Linked DNA regions of Homo sapiens: region 1 is linked to region 2. The links are contacts of gene promoters, found by promoter capture Hi-C in blood cells and fetal thymus (Javierre and others, 2016). All regions are on one chromosome and are shown on one strand. Each heading gives the region's core, a stretch centred on a gene start or on the middle of the fragment in contact. The rest is flanking DNA. Distances are from core to core; before and after follow the strand shown.

What was found. Contacts are between HindIII fragments. The CHiCAGO score rates a contact against its expected background, and 5 or more counts as called.
Region 1: a fragment that was not itself captured here is called in contact with the fragment with the promoter of METTL13 in region 2 in 2 of 17 cell types (total CD4 T cells and non-activated CD4 T cells); the score reaches 7.6 in total CD4 T cells.

The regions. Positions count from the first base shown.
Region 1 is chr1:174,988,533-174,992,705 of GRCh38, forward strand. It overlaps RABGAP1L (RAB GTPase activating protein 1 like), which reads left to right. Exons shown (of 26, transcript NM_001366446.1): 25 at 109-306; 26 at 1,317-4,173. The coding sequence ends at 1,469. Among named protein-coding and RNA genes, the nearest start is that of CACYBP, 9.3 kb to the right of the region's middle. The HindIII fragment of the contact is 8,943 bases long and covers 1-4,173 here.
Region 2 is chr1:171,779,623-171,784,405 of GRCh38, forward strand. METTL13 (methyltransferase 13, eEF1A N-terminus and K55) reads left to right here and starts at 2,038. Exons shown (of 8, transcript NM_015935.5): 1 at 2,038-2,498; 2 at 4,118-4,783. The coding sequence starts at 2,346. RefSeq lists enhancers at 1,727-2,021, 1,851-2,384. The HindIII fragment of the contact is 1,150 bases long and covers 1,276-2,425 here.

The DNA of each region.
Region 1 (4,173 bases), core at 106-2,605, 3.2 Mb after region 2:
CCTGCATCTATGACAATAAGCAGCATCTAAAAAAGTCATAAATTGTTTCAGAAGGTGATTTAGCCTATGGAATAGTTTGATGTTGGTTATCTCTTTTGGATACTTTAGGGTAAGATGATGGCATGCAAACACTGCAGTGACATTTTCAGCAAGGAGGGTGCTTTGAAACTAGCAGCCACAGGCAGAGAGGACCAGGGAATTGAAACAGATGATGAGAAGGACTCACTTAAGAAGCAGCTGAGAGAGATGGAACTGGAACTGGCACAAACCAAACTGCAGTTGGTGGAGGCCAAGTGTAAAATTCAGGTTGGTGATTTGATAAAAGAACAAGAAGAAAGAATAAACAATTAATGGTCCAGGATACTCTAGTACTTCAGAATACACCTATCTAGGTCAGAATTGTATGATGAATACATTTTCTGTCTGCTAATGTGTCCTGCATAATCACATTTTATATCATGTATTCTTAACGCTGATATAAACAAATATATAATTTTAAATGAAATTTTAATAATTAAAATTATATCTTATGGGAATTTAATTAAGCATATGCTTGTTTTTTTTACCCTGAGATTTTTTGCTTACATCCTTTCTCACAGAATGTGGTCACTTCAGTGGCTGATCCTGAAAATGAAAAACCAAACCCCCTCTGCTGTGTCTACCCTGAGAGTCACACATTGGCTGACACCCGTTCTTTCCTTTAGAGCTTCTTTTTATCTTTAGCTCATTTTGTCAAACCTCTTTCCCCATTATCTTTCTCCATATTGGCGCATAATATAATTAGAAATAGTCCTGGCTTCTGATGGACTCTTCTTCATTTCATTTTCCCAGTGATCCCTACCAGCACCATGGCTGCCATGTCACCAGCCTCCACCACACCAGCCAGCTTCCACCATGTGTCTGCTCTGACCTTGGACATTCTTAGGGCAAAGCCTATTTCTTTGGAACTGGAATTCATTCATGCTTCTACTATCAGTAAAAATTCATCCATATGTTTACATTTATTTGTGGTTTTTAAACCTGTTATATCGGATTGCAACCTAAACCTAAATTTGGACCTAACTTGCAGGGAAAAAAAGAATAAAATGAGCTTTTCTTTCACTGTTTAAAGAAAGCACAGATTCTAGATTTTTGATAAGTCTTTTAGCTCTTAACTTTATCCTTGTACTAAGAAGCCAATTCAATCTCTCCTGGGTTTTGTGGGAGGAAAATTGGCAGCACATACCTTGAGACTCCAAAAAGCTGCACACTTTTATTTATTTATTGGCAAAGAGAAAACATTTATTTAACTCAGATGATTTTCTTGCTTTAATTAGGAACTTGAACATCAGAGAGGAGCCCTTATGAATGAAATCCAAGCTGCGAAAAACTCTTGGTTTAGCAAAACCCTGAACTCTATCAAAACGGCCACGGGCACCCAGCCATTGCAGCCAGCACCGGTCACCCAGCCACCCAAGGAGAGCACATAGTTCCAGCCTTACCCAAGCACAAGAGCACAATGTTCAAACCAATGGAAATCTGGGAGGATTCTTCCTGGTGTCCCTTTGAAGGAAAGTCAAGGAGGCCAGAAAACAAGCCAGAATTTTTCAGTAGCTCTCACTCTTTCTTGTATGACACTTTTCAAAGGGATGCTATTTAAACTGACCTGTTCTATGTTGAATACCTATTTTCCAGCTTCTGGAAGGCCATGTTCAGATCCATCATAGTATTACACATTATTTTGTTTGCCTGATGTTTAGTTGGAAATAAGTAATTCAGAACTAAATGCTTTTTTATTTAGAATTATTCATAATTATTTTTATCTTACATAAAAATGGAGACATCTGTTATTCCAAGGTTGAAGTGATAAGAAGATCTTTGTCACAGGAAAAAAAAAATTGAAACCTAAACATCTTAAGTTTTCAGGATTTATTCAGATAAAGCACACTGTGGGGCCAGGCATGACCACTCTCAGGTTTCCTCCTGAGCCTGATTCCCAGGGAAGTGTTAATCCTGTCCAAAGGAAAGAACCAATCAGCGATCATTGGTTTACTTTCATTTTCTGTTCGGTACATCTGGAAATGAAGTGCCAGGAATAGACGGGCTGTTCAGATTATACGCTAGGTAAAAGGAACTGAAATTTTAATAAGTGTAGGTCAGGATCATTTGGGCTGTGGTATTCTAACAGATCCTTTTAAGAATGCCACATAGGACTTGTGAGTTCCTAAGTACACCAAAGTATGGACACAGATGTGACTTCTGGCAATTATAAAGTTAAAGGTGGATATTGCACCTTACAGACTTAGGGAGCCTTTACCAGAGACGCCTAAAAAGCCCCAGGTTCAGCCATTGTGCTGAATAGAGTGGAATATAGAACCAGGGACAGAGTATTTCATTTAACGTTGATATATACTTGCTAAGGAAACACTAACAATACTGTAACTTTGTTAAAGGACATAGTATTGAAATGGGAAATAGAGGTCAGGCTCACATCATCTTAGTTTAATGCTGGGCAACTTTTTCTGATTTCTGTAGTTCCCTGAAAATGTGTCCTTCGTACCCATAAAGAGATACAAATGCATTTGTAACATTTTTGATTGAATATAAAACCTTTACAGAAATACTTATCTCATGGAAAGGTAAAGCTATTGTTTAAAAATTAGTGGAAATATTTTTTCAATTATATTTAACATGCCTATAAAAATAGTCCTTGCAGGAAATTATTTGATAAGAGCAAAACTATTTTTATTTTATAAACTATTTTGGAGGCCTCTGATCCTTTCAAACCAACCAAACTACTATTAGATATGTACAATAACATTTGTTGATATTAATCATTGGCCTCATTGTTGAACATATTATTTGCAAAGAATCTTAAACTCTGTAGTGCCAGAATGATTCTCATCTGTGCCATATTTTGCAATTAAAAGTAACACACCCTTAGAAGAATCAAATAAGAGCCATCTACATCCCAGGAGGATGCACCAAGTTGCTCACAGTGGATCTTTTCCTCTAAAATGATCTTTTATGTTCTAAAAAGTGAAATCCCCTTTATCTGTGTTTATATTCTCTACAGCCCATAAAACTGATGTGATTGTTATGTTATACTCATCAGATAATACTTTTCTTACATAAATCTTTCATTGTTGTTCTGACATCTTTCATTACAAAATTTATTTTCTTAACAAAAAGGAACATAACCCAGCATTCCAAGTGTCTGTGTTGGCTTTAACATTCTCTACATGGTGGTCTAGATAAGCTAATTTTTTTTTTTTTTTTTTTGTAAAATGTAATAGCTAGAAAATGTTATCTTGGCGCTTGTTTTTGTAAATCATTTAGTATAGGCTGTTAGCTTTACTGGTACTTTACGCTTTGATTCCAAGAAGCCTTGTGCAGTTGCCTTATCAAATGGCCAGCTAAATTAAAGATGCTCTTTTGTGTTGTGAATTTCATAGTTCTGTACAGAGCTTGTTTCAATTTACAAAAATAAGTACATTCCACAGAATGCCTAAAGTGTGTAATTTTCTTTAAATAATAGTAGGTGAGGGAGAAACATAATGGCTCTAGGTCAATCCCTTATCTAAAGACCTTGTTCAACTTCATAGTCCCTTTCCTTTTAAAGAGGAGAAGAGAAAAATCCCCCCTGGCCAGGCATGGTGGCTCACATCTGTAATCCCAGCACTTTGGGAGGCTGAGGTGGGTGGATCACCTAAGGTCAGGAGTTTGAGACCAGCCTGGCCAACATGGTGAAACCCTATCTCTACTGCAAAATACAAAAATTAGCCGGGCTTGGTGGCGGGTGCCTGTAATCCCAGCTACTCGGGAGGTTGAGGCAGGAGAATCACTTGAACCCAGGAGGCAGAGGTTGCAGTGGGCCAAGATTACGGCATTACATTCCATCCAGCCTGGGCGACAAGAGCAAAATTCCGTCTCGAAAAATCACCAGGTACATACCTCTCAAGTTTGATAAGTCCATCTTTTGAGTTTTCTTTTAGCTCTTTCAAAAGATTACGAGGGCAATACATATTTTTTTTTTTTTTATTCTCCAGCCCCATATCATACTTGGGTATGCCTGTTGGTACCATAAGCCTAAACTCTCCTTCACTGCAATGCCTTTGAGTCAGTAGCAATAGTAAAGACTAGAAACAAAGAAAATTCAGAATTTGGTATGTGATATGATTGTTCATACAATAT
Region 2 (4,783 bases), core at 788-3,287:
AGGGAGTCTCCTTCTGTTGGCCAGGATGGAGTGCGGTGGCGCAATCTCTTGGCTCACTGCAACCTCCGCCTCCCGGGTTCAAGCGATTCTCCTGCCTCAGCCTCCTGAGTAGCTGGGACCACAGGCACACACAACCACGCTCGGCTAATTTTTGTATTTTTATTAGAGACATGGTTTCACCATGTTGGCCAGGCTGATCTCAAACTCCTGATCTCAAGTGATCCGCCCGCCTCGGCCTACCAAAGTGGTAGGATTACAGGCGTGAGCCACCGCGCCTGGCTGCTATGCTGTTTTGCTTCTTTGGTATCGTGTAGCACATTCAGTACAAGTGATGTCCTCCGCTCTCAATAAGTGCTTCCTAAAGAACTCACATTTCACCCATTCAGAACCTTGCATGGTGTAGTAGCTGAAGTTACTACTTCAAGGACTCCTTCTCTTTATCTTGGGTAGAGAGGAACAATGTGAACTCAGCAAAGGGATCATGAAAACAGATTTTCTCTTATGTTACTTGTAGAAAGCTTTTAGATTTATCATTGAAAATTGCGAATTTTGAACCATATCCATTTTGACTTAATTGTATTTTAAAACAGTGGTTCTCAAAAAAGTGTGGTTCCGGGACCAACATCATCAGCATCGTGGGAACTTGTTAGAAACACAAATCCTTGGGCCTCACCACTGAACTAATGACTTAGAACAGGGGTTGGACTGGGGAATTCTGTGTTTTAACAAGTCCTCCAGGTGATTCTGACGCATGCCAGTTTGAGAATCACTTTTTTAAACCAATGTTTAAGTCCAATCTAACCTACTTAACTATTAACAGTCTACCTGGCTATCTACCTGTGGTAGTGTAGTATGTAACAGCCCACAGCACACATGCTCAATTCCAAGCCTATCTGCTCTCCGCAATCAGTATATTCCTCCTGCAATTTATCATGGTATGAAAGGCCCAGTGATACACATATTTGGTCATTTTCAAATAGTGCCTGCCAGCATAGTGGCTCACACCAGTCATCCCAGCACTTTGGTAGGGTGAGGCGAGATGATCATTTGAGCTCAGGAGTTTGAGAACAGCCCGGACAACATGGCGAAACCCCATTTCTACAAAAAAAAAAAAAAAATTAGCCAGCGGTAGTGGCGTGCTACTTGGGAGGCTGAGGTGGGAGGATCCCCTGACCCCTGGAAAGTGGAGACTGCAGTGAGCCATGACTGCACCACTGCACTCCAGTCTGGGCGACAGAGACAGACCCTGTCTGAAAAAAAAGTGCCCTTCACAGAAGCTTCCTCAGGGTATTAGCATGAGCATGTGAAAGTACAGTATGTTTATCAAACACATAAAATAAGCAGTTATAAATAACGTCAGAATAACACAAGGAGGCCAATTATCAAAATGAAAGGCTAGTTTTGCATGCTGTGCTTTGCGGAGAGAAGGAAGAGGGAGTTTTCATGTTATTACACTTTTGATAGCAGAATCCTATATTTTGGTGCAGAGGTGGCAAAATAAGGCGGGGGGTGCTGGTGCGCAGAAGCTGACAAGGTTAGAATGTGCAGCGTTTTTACGACGGACTGGCTTTACTCATTTCCTGCCTCACTTCTCTCCTATCTGTATAGGTTTTTCTTTTCGTCCTCCTCTACCAGTACGCTCCCGCCTGCCGCGCTCCGCCCTTGTGCGGCGCACGATCGGAGTCAGTGATTAAGCCGGCTCCAAGACAAAGCGGAGGCCGAGCCCAGGAAGCAAGCGCGCTCTCCGCCCCGCCTGGAGGGAGGGCCCAACCACAGCACAGCCGCGCTCACTCCTCACCCGGACGTGACCTAGTTCTCACAGAGGCCCGGCCTCTTCCGCCACAACTCCGGCCCGCGGTCCCGCCCCGTTCCGTGAATGGTCGGCCGGCCTCAGGTCAAAAAAGCGTTTAGGTGTCTGCGACGGAGCCTCCGGAGAAAGGCAAGCACGTCGCAGCCAATGAGGTGATAGAAACGCAAAGCAGCGACCAATGACTAGCTGAGTTGGGCTGGGCCGGCCGACGAATCACGAGGCTTCGCACCCGGATATGGTTATGGGCTCGGAAATCTAGTTCGGGAAAAGTGTGAGGGGCTCTTCACGTGGGGAAGGAACAGCAGGCGCGGAGGAGGGGGCAAGCGTGTGTGAGATTCAGTGGTCCATGCGTGCGTTTGTCGTGTAAGGGTCATTCCTGGGGTTTGGAGTGGGGGAACAAATCAATGTGGCTGTTTTTCCGTGGAAAGAATTCCCACTGCAGTGTCCCGGAGCCTGCGTGTGGTGGGCAAGCTCCTCAAATGGTATCTCACAGGGAATAGGGGAGTCTTGAAAACGCAGCTTCGGCAGTAGGAACATGAACCTCTTACCTAAAAGTTCCAGGGAGTTTGGCTCCGTTGACTATTGGGAGAAGTTCTTCCAGCAGCGAGGAAAGAAAGCTTTCGAGTGGTATGGAACCTACCTGGAACTGTGCGGGGTGCTACATAAATATATCAAGCCCAGGGAAAAGGTGAGGAGCGCGGGTTGGTAGCCCTTCGTACGTGCTCCGGAAGGTGGGAACTGGTAACAGGAATCTTGCACTTGGTGGACAGTGACAGGCGGGAGGACCCTAGTTGGACGCATATTTCAGCATTTCCTGCATTGTTCCTGCTAAAAGACAAACTAGAATATTCTTTCAGGCCGGGCGCAGTGGCTCACACCTGTAATCCGAACACTTTGGGAGACCGAGGTGGGAGGATCGCTTGAGCCCTGGAGTTAAAGACCAGCCTGGGGAACATGAGACCTCGTCTCTACAAAAAATGAAAAAATTAGCCGGGCGTGGTGGCGCGCATCTGTATTTCCAGCTACTCGGGAGGCTTAGGCGGGAGGATCGCTTGAGCCCAGGAGGTCGAGGCTGCAGTGAGCCATGATCACGCCACTGCACTCCAGCCTGGGTGACAGAGTGAGACCCTGTCTAAAAAAAAAAACATTTCTTTAAAGGTTTTCAGATAATAGACCTCCCACCCCAGCTCATTCTTGGATTAATAACCCTACTTGAAGAGTGACTTCCCATCTTGAAAGTATGTTCTTCTGTCACTGTGCATTCCTGTGCAACCTGCAGCAGGTGTGACTTTGTGTATGAATTTGTTTTTCAAATAGTCGTTGAGTGCGCCCCAAGTTTCAGGCACTGCTCAGTCCTTAAACTATAAGAGCATTAAGACGTAAACCCTGCACATGTTCCAGAAGTGAAACGTGATAAGTACAACAATGGGTTTGGTATAGGTGAGATTGTACTGGAGGTAGGGAAGGAGGAAGGTAGAAAACTTAACATTTGTGGGGAAGCTTTATGTGCCAAGCCTTATGTTGGGTGCTGTGTATGTGCATGTGCAATCTTTGAATTCTCATCATAAATTCAGGTGAGTGGCCATGCATACATTTTACAGATGAGGAAACTGAGGCCCCGAGAGCCACTTTTTTTTTTTTTTTTGCCCAAGATCATGTCCAGGTGGTCATGTGGGGATTTAAACTCAGGCCTGTCTGGCTCCAGAGCATATGCACATCTCTTTGTACCATGCTTTTCCAAAGATGGCAATATCAGAATTTCTAAGTTTGAATGGGAGATTGCTCCCTGGAGAGGGAGACAACAATCTGAATTTTAAGTTCGGCTTCAGAAGATAGCCAAATATCATGAGATGGAATCCGTGATGGAAGTAAGATTTGAATCCTCACAAAGTGTACTTTATTGTCTAAAGGAGCCAAAGGCATGAGTAGAGTGAGGAAATAGGGTTATTCCTGGCCTAGGATTTCAACTGTAACTCTATATTTGGATTCTCTGACTTCCTATTAATTCCTGAGTAATAAGTGCATGATTTAGAGAAAAGAACAGTTATGATTAATTTGTTTCTGCAACACAAAGCCCATTCTCATATAACCTGTATTGTAGCTGAATGTGGTTTTCACTAGCAAGTATATGTGGTGTTTCAAGATAGAGTCTAGCATCAACTCTACAATGTCGCTCTTTCTCTGGCAGTAGCGTCTCCACCTTCTGAAAATGTGACTCAGCCAAGGTGAGACTTGATTCCTTGAAGTACCTGAAGTACAGTCCTTTGCTTTGATTACCTCCCTCTTGTCTGTGAATTTTTTCTCCAGGTGCTGGTGATTGGGTGTGGCAACTCAGAACTGAGTGAGCAACTGTATGATGTGGGCTATCGGGATATAGTGAACATCGACATCAGTGAGGTTGTCATCAAGCAAATGAAGGAATGTAATGCCACCCGACGGCCCCAGATGAGCTTCTTGAAGATGGACATGACGCAGATGGAGTTTCCTGATGCCTCGTTCCAGGTGGTGTTGGACAAGGGCACCCTGGATGCTGTCCTGACAGATGAGGAAGAGAAGACCTTACAACAGGTGGACAGGATGCTGGCTGAGGTTGGCCGTGTCCTGCAGGTGGGCGGTCGCTATCTCTGCATCTCCCTGGCTCAGGCTCACATCCTGAAGAAAGCAGTGGGCCACTTCTCCCGGGAGGGGTGGATGGTGAGGGTGCACCAAGTGGCCAACAGCCAGGACCAGGTGTTGGAAGCAGAGCCTCAGTTCTCCTTGCCTGTCTTTGCCTTCATCATGACCAAGTTCAGGCCAGTCCCTGGCTCTGCCCTTCAGATCTTTGAGCTGTGTGCTCAGGAGCAGCGCAAGCCTGTGCGGCTGGAGAGTGCCGAGCGGCTGGCCGAGGCGGTGCAGGAGCGACAGCAGTATGCCTGGCTGTGCAGCCAGCTGCGCCGCAAGGCCAGGCTGGGGAGTGTGTCTCTGGACTTGTGC